4 separate regions of the Homo sapiens genome follow, and regions 2, 3 and 4 are each linked to region 1. Evidence: promoter capture Hi-C in 16 types of primary human blood cells and fetal thymus (Javierre and others, 2016). All regions are on one chromosome and are shown on one strand. The core of a region is centred on a gene start or on the middle of the fragment in contact, and the rest is flanking DNA. Distances in the headings are between cores, read along the strand shown.

Region 1 (3,345 bases), core at 764-3,263:
TCTTTTACCTGCACCTGCCTTCCGTTCATCAGCGGAGGCATCACTAGCGGGGCCAGGACTGAGAATCGATGAATGGGCATTGCTTTGGTGTAGCATATTTTTCTGTCTCTTGGTTTTACACTTGCAGGGGCATGGAGTCAGATAGAGGTACAAAAGTACCAAAACGATACTGGCCACGCAAGCAGCAAGAGTGGTAAAAGCTGTGTTAAATGCCTCATGAGCATGGGATCTGCTTACAGTGAAATTGCTCACATTTATTGTGACGTCCACAGTTTCATTTAACAGGCGTTGCTTATTCATTGCGATACAAGAATACACTCCAGCATCCTCAAAACGAGGGCTTTCTATAACCAGACTTCCATTGTGAAACACGTAAAAGTTTTCCATCTCTTTATCCGGCTCTAGCAGTCTGTTATCTGGACCCACCCAGATGAAATCCGTATTTGCATTACCTGTCTTGCTGTCACAGTGGACCATCAGTCTTTCCCCGACCTGAGCCTCATGAATAAAGCCAAGCGCACGAAAGGAACCATTGATGATGCTGTCAGAGCAATTCATAAAGCTATCCTGGAGCAGAAGTACCTGACGCGAGTGCCTGGAGTCAGACCACAGGCGACAGGTGTAATCGTTCTTAAAATCCATCACTGAGCTAAAGTGCCTACGATACCAAAAGACCAGCAAGGAGTACAGGGAACAGTCACAGACAAATGGGTTTCCATGAAGGTAGATGCCTCTCAGCTGTTTTCCTGGCACTAAATTTATGTGGTGCATTGGCATGGAAGGAATTCGGTTATAAGAAACATCTAAAAACATCAGTTCTGCCAGCTTGAACCTTCCAACATACAAATCCATCGGAAACTGTGTGAGAAAATTTCCACTTAAGTAGAGTTTCTGCAACTGGGAGAGCCCTCCAAACGCTGAAGGATCGAGATAGGATATGTGATTGTTGTAAAGCAGAAGCACTTCCAGAACCTTCAACTCTTGGAATACAGCATTTTTCACCGTCTTCAGCTTATTGGACGATAAGTCAAGACACTTCAAATTTGGAGTTGTGGAAAAACTGCCCGTGGAAATGCTGGTGATGTTGTTATGACGAAGAATTAGGGTGTTCAGCTTTGCAAACGATACTGGAATCCACTCAGAATCCAGAAGCCCAATTCTGTTATAACTCAGGTCCAGTCTCTTAATCAGTCTGAAAAGGTTCCCAGGCACCTTGGACAGGTTTTTGTTGGTGCAGCTGACGATGTCAGTGGCACAGATGCAAGCGGTGGGGCACACCCCAGAGGCACCAGGGCCCACAGTCACTGTGATCATCAGCAAACACAGCAGCTCCCTGCAGCCCGGTCTGACGACGGCTCCAAGCAGGGTGGGCAGAGTGTGTACACGTAACGACATTATGGTCGCCTCTGAGTCTCTTCCCGGTGTCTTTTCCACCGGCTCAGCCTCCCACCAGTGAACCTGGCAAACAATTAATAATTCAGAGGGAGTAAAAAGCAGAAACTGACTACCACTAGTTAACCCATAAGAGCCATACCTTACTTTCTTTCCAATAACTTTTGAAATGGGTTTTATTTCACAATAGGGAGCTCTGTGTTGCCTCTTCACTGTTAAATGTATTTTTTCCTCTTTCCTGGGTTAGTCCTGCTTATAAAAATGTACAGTCACATTCTCTCCATACAACCCACCGTCTCACCCACCATCAGAAACTCAATTTTTTCCTAAGGTGCATCCTGCGTTGTTGTTGTTGTTGTTGTTGTTTTAAACTCCCTCCAACAGACACAACTATACGCAAACGTACGCTACAAACAATTAAACGGAAATACTTAGCAACCACCCATCCAGGAAAAAACTCACGGTGCTGGGGAGCCTCGTGGGCTCCGGGGAGGCTGCCTACGCAGTGCCTTCCGAAGGTCTGCGCGTCCGTCTGTCCGTGTCTGTCACTCTTGCACCTTCCGACTTCCTTTCCCTCCGGCTCCCGGCGGGCGGCACCCTCTAGCCGGCTCTCAACTTTGAGGAGTTTCAAGCAGCCGCGGCGGCAGCAGCAGCCCTGGACGCAGCAGCCAAGCTCTTCGCTGGCTCCCGGGGGCTCTCCCGGGTTCCTCTCATTGCAGGCTGAAGGTACCGCCTCGGCGCTCTGGCCGCCGTGTGCCCGCGCGCGGGGCGCCCCGCTCCCAGAGCCGGGGCCGCGGGAGGGGGCGCAGGCAGCCGGGCGGCAGCGGGCGGCCCCGCCTCTCCGCACTCGGGAGGCTGCAGGACCCGGGGTTCCCGCGCGCCCGGGGCCGGGAGACGGGCTGGGGCGCCGGTCCCACCCCTGCGCGTCCTGCCTCCTGCGGGCAGCAGCTCGGAGCCTGCGGGAGGGAGCAGGCTGGGCGCGTGGTGGGGGGCGCGCGATGCGGAGGGGGCGGCGGCGCAGCCAATCCGAGAGGCGGCCGGCGCCCCCTCATACCGCCCCGCGGCCTCGCCGCCTCCTCCCGCTTTCCTCCTCCAGCTCCCACCCGGACCTCTAGAACGGCCGCGCAGAGCGGGGAGGGGGCAGGGGTCCACACCAGAGGCCCAGACTCTGGTCCTTGAGTCAAGATGCCCAACCCACTCGCCTACCAATTACGTCCCTTCGTCCAGCTCCAAGCCGGGCGGTAATGGGGTCCAGGAAGGCTAAAGGGGACACGCCCAGCCACCGAGGGAGGGGTCTCACCCTTGGAGACCCACTTCGCGGCGGCCGCACAGGTCACGTCTCTCTCCCCACCCAGGCCAAGGAATCCCCGGACCTCTTAGAGCTTTGCTTTGGGGCAAGGGCCAAGGAGGCTTTGCCTGCGCCAAGTGCAGTTGACTGTCTGGGTTTACAAAATAAACCCAGAAGCAGCCTGACGTCTCCGCTCGTTTCTAGGGAGGAGGTCGCGGGGAGGGAAGTCGGGAACGTTTCCTCTCCACAGGGATATCTGCTGGGAGGAAGTAACCGGGAAATCGCCACGGGGACACCCCTCACCTCCCTGGGAAAGTTCTATCCCTTTCCTGACTCAGGAGGCGGCAACAGGGATGGTGTCCAATTCAAGAAGGAGGAGGGCAGGAAAGAAGGCTTGGAGCCGACCTTCCGGCTGGAATGCAAAGATAAGAGTATTAACCCAAATAATAATAATAATCCCAGAGCAGACCTTTTTTTCTTTTTTCTCTCTTCTCCTTCCCCTCTTCTCTCTCCCTCTCTCTCTCCCTCTCTCTCCTTTCTCTTTCGTTCTCTCTCTCTCATTTCCTCTGTCTCTGTCCCCGCCACCTCCCCGTCTTTTGCAAGCGTGCTCGTGGCGCGTGCGGGACAGGGAAGTAAGGGGCGTGTGCGCGGAGGCTCTTCATCCC
Region 2 (2,933 bases), core at 350-2,849, 520 kb after region 1:
ATAAAGAAAAGAGGTTCGATTGGCTCACAGTTCTGCAAGCTTTTGAGATGATGCTTTTGAGTTCTGTCCTTTTGAGATGATTTCATTATTCTTGGAGTACTTCCTTATTTTTTTGGTACAAGATGCTCTAAACTAATGCTGTACTTCCTCTGCCTTAGCCCTGGAATCAGTCATTTCTACAAAGACACCTGGTTCCTTTTAGTGGAGAATGGTGTTTAGAAACTAAGATTTAAGTGATAGGTATGCTCATTACTATTGGGGTGTCACTGCACTCATGCTGTCTCAGTGGACAGATGAATATCTATATGTGTTTGTGTGTACATAAATTTACATCTACATTTATTTCTATATATATGCACATATTTCAAAAACAGAGTTTAGCCTGATTCCTCTGCTTTCTATCTAATATCACAAGATACATGGTGCTGGCATCTGCTCAGCCTTTGGTGAATCCTCAGGGAGCTTTCAATCCTGGTGGAAGGTGAAGGACAAACAGGCATATCCCATGGTGATGAAAGCAAGTGAAAGATGGGCAGGGGAAATGCCACACACTTTTAAATGACCAGATCCCACGTGAACTGAGAGTGAGAGCTCACTTATCACCAAGGGGATGGTCCAAGCCATTCATGAGGAATCCACTCCCATGGCCCAAACACCTCCCGCCAGGCCCCACCTCCAACACTGGGGATTACAGTTCAACATGAGATTTGGGTGGGGACAAGTATCCAAACTAGATCAGATAGTGACATTATAACCCATGAATACAATAGGAAATCATGATATTCATTAATTAATCAATAAAAAGTTTGTTGAGGAACAAGATACTGTATTTACATGGCGTAAAAGCACCTTCCTGCAAATGTATATTAATTACAAAGGAGAAAAAGCTTAACTCCAGTGGAGGAGGACTCCTCCAAGTGATCAAGCTCAACATGATCAGTAATAGAACAACCCAAAATTATGCACCACCTGATAAGGTGCAATAAGAACACACATCATTTCTGTGATATTCCTGCCAAAAATGTACAGCCCAAATGTAATCATGAGGAAATAGGAAACTCTTCAACATAACTGGCCTGTAATCTTCAAAATCTTCAAAGTGTCATGAAAGTGAAGACTGAAGAACTGATCCAGATGTTAGAAGACTAAAGAAACTGGACTCTAAATGCAGTGTGTGATGCTCAACGTGATCCTTTTGCACTAAAGGACAATACAGGCACAAGTGCTGAAACTGGATGGGGTCTAGGGATTCGATGGCAGTCATGTTTTGATGTTAATTCCCTGATGTAATGAGCATACTGTGTCCCCGAAAAAGGCACATTAAACATTTTGGTGTTGGAAGGATCACCATTTCAGCAATTTACTCAAAATGATGGTGAAAAAGAGGTATTTGTACCAGACTTGTAACTTTTCTTTAAATTTGAGATTATTTTAAAATAAAAGGTATTTTTTAAGTTTTAGATAGCTTTATTAGCTATTTTTATTAGTTTCTGATTTAACCTTTCAGTGATTGGCAGAGCAAATTTAAGAAAAATATACATAAATTCTTATTTCCTCCCTTCTTATGCAAACCTAGGATGTTCTGCAACCTCCTTTTAATTTTTTTCACATGTAACAATATATTCTGGATAACATTTCACATGAGTACATGTGGAGATCTTCCTCACTCTCTTTTATGGTTGCATAGTGCTCCATGCCCTCAAATGATGCTCATTTGACATATTTCCAATTTTTTCCTATTTAAAAATAAAAGCCACACTGAATGACCTTTGTGCATGAGTCATTTTGTACTTATTCAGGTATATGTCTAGAATACATCTCTAGGAGTGGAATTGCTGGGTCAAAAAGTAGGTGATTTTTTAATTTATGATATTGCCACATTCTCCTGCAGAGTAGCAGTTTGCATTTCCACAACCCCACAAATAGAATGGGTTTAGATTTTTGCCAATCTGACAGGTAATTTAAATTTATTTTACTGTTAGTGTGGTTGACAGTCTTCTGATATGTTTGAAGGTCACAGAAATTTTGTCACTCCCCAGAAATGTTGTTTCCTCCCCACAAGTGTCTGATGGGTGCCAGGTTTGAAACCTGGTTCATTGTATTCTATGGTTTTGGTAGCTAAGAAGGAACACAATTAATAAATATTGGGTTTATTGGTTTTCACTGGAGTTTAGATAGACATTGGAAGATAAGTCTAATATACTCAAATATTATCTCCTCTACGAAATCTTCCCCAACAGTATCCAGCTGGGCTTAGTACGATTTCCCTAGCATTTTGTACATACCTCTATGAGCACATATCTTGCCATATTAAGCTTACTTGTTTAGATAATTATACTTACTGGGGTTTTGCACCTAGGAAGATAAAACACTACGCCTTATTCATTTTCCAATCCTTAGGATCAAGCCTAGTTTCTGGCACATACTCAATATGTGTGTGCCAATACAGATACCAATATAGATATTCAATAAGTATGTGTTTGAATAAATGAATAAGCAATTGATCAATAACCCCAGTGTTAAATTTATACTGAAATCTGCCGGGCATGGTGGCTCACGCCTGTAATCCCAGCACTTTGGGAGGCCGAGGCGGGCGGATCATGAGGTCAGGAGATCAAGACCATCCTGGCTAACACGGTGAAACCCCGTCTCTACCAAAAATACAAAAAATTAGCCGGGTGTGGTGGCGGACGCCTGTAGTCCCAGCTACTCGGGAGGCTGAGGCAGGAGATGGCATCAACCCAGGAGGCGGAGGTTGCAGTGAGCCGAGATTGCGCTACTGCACTCCAGCCTGGGCGACAGAGTGAGACTCCATCTCAAAAAAAAAAAAAAAAATTATACTGAAATCTAGCATGTCACTTCTCTGTAAAAACACACACAGCAGAAAGGAAATGATTTTTCTTTCTTGGATGCCATGAACTTTGAAGGGCTGT
Region 3 (3,338 bases), core at 474-2,973, 580 kb after region 1:
CAAGCCCTAAAAAGGCATAAGCCTTCAGTTGTTCACAAATTTGATAGTTGAGATGTATAGACTGTGCATCCAAAACCTCTGGTGTTGCAAAAGAAGAGATGCTTGCTAAATACTCATAGGCCTCAGGGTTATGGACTGAGAAAACAGCTGATTTACCCTGAAGTTAACAAAGGCTTAAGCCCCAGGAACTCTCACTTGTACAGGCCACTTCCACCCTGAGAGGGGCTATAGGGAAGTGTTTACATGACTATGTTTTTGCAAACTACATTTTCAAACTAAATTTCAAAACTAATATATTTTAACCACAATCAATCTAGACTGCTGTCCCTTTCTACTCTAACTTCCCTGCACCTAGTGTTTTGAGATCTAGACTATGAAGTAGCTGAGTGTTACAGAATATATTTACATGGTCTGCAGTCATTTTTGTACCAGGTTGAATTACTGCTCGCCATCTCAGTATAGGAAGATTTTAGCGATACTCCTACTACTGTCCATGCCATCAACTTTTCCAGTTTTAGGCCAGAAGTTGAACCATGATATAAATGCATTAGACAGTAACCAGCCCCAGAAGTGCATGTGCAGTGGTGGACAAGATTTGTAATGTATGGATCCCAAAGCTAATCTGTGGAGATACTTCTCAGTCTTCAGACATGTATTGTAACAGGATGCTTCATGGATGCCTGGTCAAAATGGGAGTTCTGCCTTACCAGAAATATATACTCATATAAACCCCAGAATCATATGGCTCAAATACAAAAGAAACACGGTAGAGATTTTCTCAAACTTGGCAACAATCCTAAAAACTTACATGACAGAACCAATAATTAGCTATGAAGACAAAGCTTTTAAATTATCAATAACAAAAAACTTAATTCCATCACGTGCTTTTTGCCAACGTCACCCTCTCTGTGCCCACTCTCCCTAGTCTGCTTTATGTGCTCCTTTTCCAATCTGTTAAATGTGGTTGTTAGTTCTGTTCCACTTACCCAGTCACCCTTTTCTCCTGATTCTATACTTCCAAGTAATCTCATCTAATCCTGAGACTTCACCTAAATGCTTTTTAATGTCCAAACCCAAATCACCATCCCTAATCTATTTCAATGACCAAAGGGATCACAAATCCAACAGATCCCAAATTGGACCTTTCTCTCAGCCACTCAACCAAACCTTCCAGTTCCACATATGGTGTCACCCGCTGTGGTTTATATTTTAGTGAATGAAAGCACTGCCCTAGGGGAAAAAAATCTGGGCATGACCATTAATGCTTCCTTCTGCTTCTCAACTTGCTTCCCAGCCCACACAGGATCACCAAATTGTACAAGTTAGGAAGCATTCACATTATGTTCCAGGGATGCCATTCACGCAGACCACAATGTAAAGGGTGCTCCTTGGAGTTAAGCCCTGAATGTGGGGGCCCTGAATCTACTGCCAAATCTTGCCCATTCTACTTCCCAAATATTTCTCCATTCTGGTCACTTCTCTCCATCCTCACGGCTAGTACTCTTGTTCAGGATACCATAATCTCTTGCCTTAGGTACCCCAAGTCCTCTGACAAGTTCCCCTGTCTCTAATGTCCCCAGGCAACTGTTCTTCCCATAGTAGCCAAAGTAAATTTTATAAAATACAAATTTCAGAATCACCCTCCTATATAAACTATCACTAGTTCCACAGTACCCTCAGGATGAAGTTCAAATGTCCTCTAGAATCTCAACCCTTCTGTCTTCACCAGCCTCATTTCTTACCACAATCCAGTTCCCACTCTGTGCTAAAAATTAAACTTAAGTTTTCTCAAACTTGTCTTGTCTTTTGCATCTGCTATTCCTGGTATTTCCCATGATCCCTTAGTATTACCTGTTTAGCATTTATTACGCTGTACCTCTTTATTTGTATCCCCACCATCCCATTCCACCTCCCACTTCGTTGTAAGTTTTGTGAGGAAAGAATCCATGTTTACTTTGTTCATTTTTGTATTTTCAGTGCCTAGCAGTGCCTGGCATTATATGTAGATTCAACAAATATTTGTTAAATTAATTAAATGAATGAATCAAACAAGTTTCATTAACATTAAATTTTTAATGTTTCTTTAAACATAACTCTGATAAAGGTCAAACATTAAGAAAGCATTGTAAAAAGGTAAAATGAGCCTTGGTACTGTGTTCAGAAATGCCTCCTGTTAACAGAGATAATGGATTTAGAGGTTGGAAGTAAAATTTTTTTCAAATGCGTTAGCACAAATTGTTAAAATGGTGAGGACTTGGATATGCCCCATCAATTTATTAAATTGAGTGTAACTAAAACCAGAGTCGGAGGCAGCCAATAAATGACGGGCATGGTGCTTCTGCCAACAATTCAAGAATAATTATGATGTAAATGTTGCTATCAAGTCAAAAGATACAATTAACAGTAAATAACTACATTTCCAGAAAGAAACCACTTGGGAAAATACTGCTTTTATACCTTTAAGGCAATAATATTACTATTATTAATAAAAATGACTGAGCACTATGTGACAGGCATTAATGTGCTAATACTTATAAGTATTAGCCTTTCTAAAAATCTTTGAGGTAGGCATTTACTAATATTCTATTTTATATGAGAGGAAACGGAAGCTTAGAGGTGCTAAGCAGTATGTCCAAATTCACAAGCTAGTTGAGTGCAATAGGTTGTATACGCAGGTTATTTGACCCAAAAATGACTTTATTAACCACTATGCTATTTTGCAATAAGGCAACAATATGACAGCCCCTAAAGACTGTTCTTTATTCTAATCACTTTTAGGAAATGTTGGTAATTGTAATAATAATAGTAACAGTAGCTTACTATACATCCAGCCCTGCTCCAAAAACAAAATGTGTGCATTCATTCAATCTCACTTATACCCATTCTACAGATTTCAAAAACAAAGAATAGAAAAGTAACTTGTCCAAGGCCCTAAAGCCAGATGGAGCCAGAATTCAAACTCAAGAAGTCTGAATCCAGAGCCTCTGGTCTTAAATCACTACATGAAAATGTCTCTGGGGAGAAATCAGGCTAACATCAGAAATTTTTTAAAATTCAAATTCTATAGTAAATCTTGTGATCTGTACTTCTTCAGTTAACAGTCTCTACACAGGTAACACAACATAAAAACTGCAGCTGGAAGTAGTTCAAATAGCTCTACATTAAGAGAAGACAGCACGTTCTGAACTGTTTTGGCCAATTTTTAGCTCTATAATCATGCAGAGAACATTAACCCTCTGAGCCTCCTTTTCTTATGTTAAGAATGACAATAACATTACCTGCCCTGACTACCTTGTAAGTTTCTTCAAAGGATCATACCGTAGTCCATTCGGGTTGCT
Region 4 (2,935 bases), core at 82-2,581, 600 kb after region 1:
CTGGAAAAAAGGCAGCTTATGGAAAAATGTCATATAAACTAAGTTTCTAATTTAAAAAGCTTGTATATAATTTCAATCACTAACTTCTAAATCTGTGTTTGAAGTGGAGAACTATTTTATAAATTTTTTATTCTCACCAAATCCTGGAATCATTTGGTGAGGAGGGAGAAGGTACCAGATTGAGGGAATGTTAGGAGAGTCTGCTGGAGCGATGAAATAATAATGCAAAAATATGACTAGGGCAGACAAAAGAATGCCACTGCTTCTCTGCCTACCTCTTCTCCAAGTCTCAATATGCACAGGTATTACATTAGAATTTTGACTGGCATTAGTTTTCTAATAAAACTTTATTAACATTTACCCACAGTAAACCTCCCATACTCATAGAAAAACAAAAAAATGAGAACTTGGTACGAATGTGATAGCATATCATCTAATACTTTGCATAAATTCTACTCAGCCATGCAACCAGCAATCAATTCAGACTTACAGACTTACTCATTACTGCTCTACAACAACAAGGTGCTTAAGAAGAGCTCAACCCCCTCCACCAAAAAAACCCAATAACAAAAAAACTTCAGACATTCCCATATATTAATAGGACATTAATGAATTATTGTTAATTTCTTAGGAGTGCTAATGGTTGTGGTTATGTATAAAATATCCTTTCTTTAGCAATAAACGTCATAATGTTTATGATTTGCTTTACAATAATTCGGGGGGAAAATGCTGAAACAAATATGACCAAAAAAAGTATGGCTTGTTAGAACTAGATGATGGACACATGGAGTTTATTATACTACTTTTGTATAAGTTTGAAAAGTTTCATAAGAATATTAAAAAAAAAAAAAACACTCCTGTAATTGCATTCTCCCCAAGGCCTAAATGGATGTCATCTTGCCCTCAAAACAAAATCTCATATGAAAAAAATCAGAATTTCGAATGAACTTAAACATCTCTGATTTATTTAACTCACTTTCCAGCAAGAGATAAAGAATATATCTGTGTTCATGCCCTTATCAATGTTATTTTCTACTTGCCTGATTATATCATTCAAGATACCTGCATGGCCCCCATACTTTTCAAGATAAAGTCCAATTCCTTTGGAGCGCAAAGTCAGGGGCCTGCCTGAGTATCTGGCCTTCTCTCTGCCACTGTCCCCTGCAATAACAGCCATAATACGAACCACTCACCCTTTCCAGGTTGAGGTACCATCAACCTGCCTACTCCCACGTCTTTGAACCTGCACTAGAACACTTGACCTGTTTCCTGTTTTTTCACCTCACTAACTCATACTACTCCTAAACAATTTCAAGATGCTTTCCAGGAATTCCCCTGCCTGGACTCAGTCTATGCCAGTATTCTTCCCACTCTGAACTCCTATAGCACGTGTCCTTCATAGCGCTATCTTAGCGTATTTTCACAAATATTGGTCTCCTTTTCTGTCACTCCCTGCAAATTTCGGGTTTCTTAAAAACAACTATACATTTAATATTTGTATACTTAATACCTTCCACAGTGCCTCACAGAACACCTGATACATTTTAGCACAATAAATATTTGCTGAATAAGTAAATCAAAAAATTTCCAACACCCAAATTCAAAGAAAATTTAGAATATAAATGTTTAGGAAATCATTTTAATTGTATATTTAATTGCATATTTAATTGCATGTTCTACTGTACAGCTGAAGAAAACCCAACAATTTTTCTAAAAGTCTGAAGTTGCCACAGAGGTAGACGATTATTCTTTGAAAATAGACTCACCTAAGTCCTTTAAAATTATTACACGTCTCCTGTGCACTCCATTTGTAAAGTGAATTTAGAAAAATCCAATCAACAAACATCTTTTAGGTGGTTGGAGAAAAAGACAAACTAATCAAAAATAGAATAAAAATGGTGAGTGCGAAAAACTATCATCTCTGCCTAGCTCCTTAGCCCTGATTCCTTCTGATTTTCAGTCAGGTCCACTTGCCCTAGGTCTACTCTGGCTCTAGTGTAAATGCCGCCCCTAATCACCATTAAGTGAACCACCCTCTACTAAATCAAGTCTTAGTCTGGTTCCAGTTCCAGCAACCAAGATTCTACCTTATTTTTGTGACCAACTCTCAACCCTGTTTCCCAAATCTAATATCTAATACTACTGGGTTATTTTCTTCTTATCCTATCTCTAAATCTATGCTTTACTCCCTCTAAGAATAGGACTCAGATTTGTTCTTGGTCAGTCCTCTTCAAGGACTACAATGTTGGCCCAAACTTCTGTCCTTATTTCTGATTATCTTCTTATTTCTTCAGCCTTTCTGAAGCTAACCATCTACCAGCCTACATTCCACAATTTGCCAGCTCACAGGCACTCCATTATTGTAACTCAAGGATGTCTTGCTCATCTCCCAATGCAAACTACTAATTTAGACTATCACCTCCAGAAAGCACATTCTCTAGGAATCCCGGTTGGCCTAACTAGGTGAATTTCTTCTTACTCCCTACTGCTACCCCGCACACTGGTAGGTAAGACTGACTATACTGCTGGTTCTAATTAGCTCTAATTTGACACAGTTTATAGAACCTCAAGCTATAGGATGGTTACCTAAACTAGGAGTAGTCTAAGCTTGAAATGTTGCTTTTTTATGTTCCTCACATAGTCCGTAATACATAACAACAGTCTCCATGTACAGAAAAAAATTCTGATATTAACTGTGAATCTAAAAGATACACTAGGAAAAGATACAAGTAAGAGTCATAAGTTCTTTTAATTTAAAATATACTCTGCTAACTTGGTATAATATATTCCACTAATACGATTATAAACTAAAGAAATAAAACTGATACAATAAATTAGATATCTTATAAATGCATATATAATCTCTCACCTGTAAGAAGGCATTACTCTTAGCATTAGTCAAACCAACGAACTCAGGCTTTACAATTTTTAAACC

What was found. Contacts are between HindIII fragments. The CHiCAGO score rates a contact against its expected background, and 5 or more counts as called.
Region 2: a fragment that was not itself captured here is called in contact with the fragment with the promoter of PCED1B in region 1 in 1 of 17 cell types (M1 macrophages); the score reaches 5.9 in M1 macrophages.
Region 3: a fragment that was not itself captured here is called in contact with the fragment with the promoter of PCED1B in region 1 in 1 of 17 cell types (activated CD4 T cells); the score reaches 5.1 in activated CD4 T cells.
Region 4: a fragment that was not itself captured here is called in contact with the fragment with the promoter of PCED1B in region 1 in 7 of 17 cell types (activated CD4 T cells, M0 macrophages, total CD4 T cells and 4 more); the score reaches 7.6 in activated CD4 T cells.

The regions. Positions count from the first base shown.
Region 1 is chr12:47,077,608-47,080,952 of GRCh38, forward strand. It overlaps PCED1B (PC-esterase domain containing 1B), which reads left to right and starts at 2,014. Exons shown (of 4, transcript NM_138371.3): 1 at 2,014-2,118. AMIGO2 (adhesion molecule with Ig like domain 2) reads right to left here and starts at 2,352. Exons shown (of 3, transcript NM_001370299.1): 1 at 1,855-2,352; 2 at 1,535-1,641; 3 at 1-1,458. The coding sequence starts at 1,395. The HindIII fragment of the contact is 11,510 bases long and covers 1-3,345 here.
Region 2 is chr12:47,599,460-47,602,392 of GRCh38, forward strand. No RefSeq gene overlaps it. Among named protein-coding and RNA genes, the nearest start is that of RPAP3, 110 kb to the right of the region's middle. The HindIII fragment of the contact is 1,428 bases long and covers 886-2,313 here.
Region 3 is chr12:47,658,573-47,661,910 of GRCh38, forward strand. It overlaps RPAP3 (RNA polymerase II associated protein 3), which reads right to left. Exons shown (of 17, transcript NM_024604.3): 17 at 2,677-3,338. Among named protein-coding and RNA genes, the nearest start is that of RPAP3, 46 kb to the right of the region's middle. The HindIII fragment of the contact is 1,767 bases long and covers 841-2,607 here.
Region 4 is chr12:47,681,843-47,684,777 of GRCh38, forward strand. All of the region lies in intron 9 of RPAP3 (RNA polymerase II associated protein 3), which reads right to left. Among named protein-coding and RNA genes, the nearest start is that of RPAP3, 23 kb to the right of the region's middle. The HindIII fragment of the contact is 2,548 bases long and covers 58-2,605 here.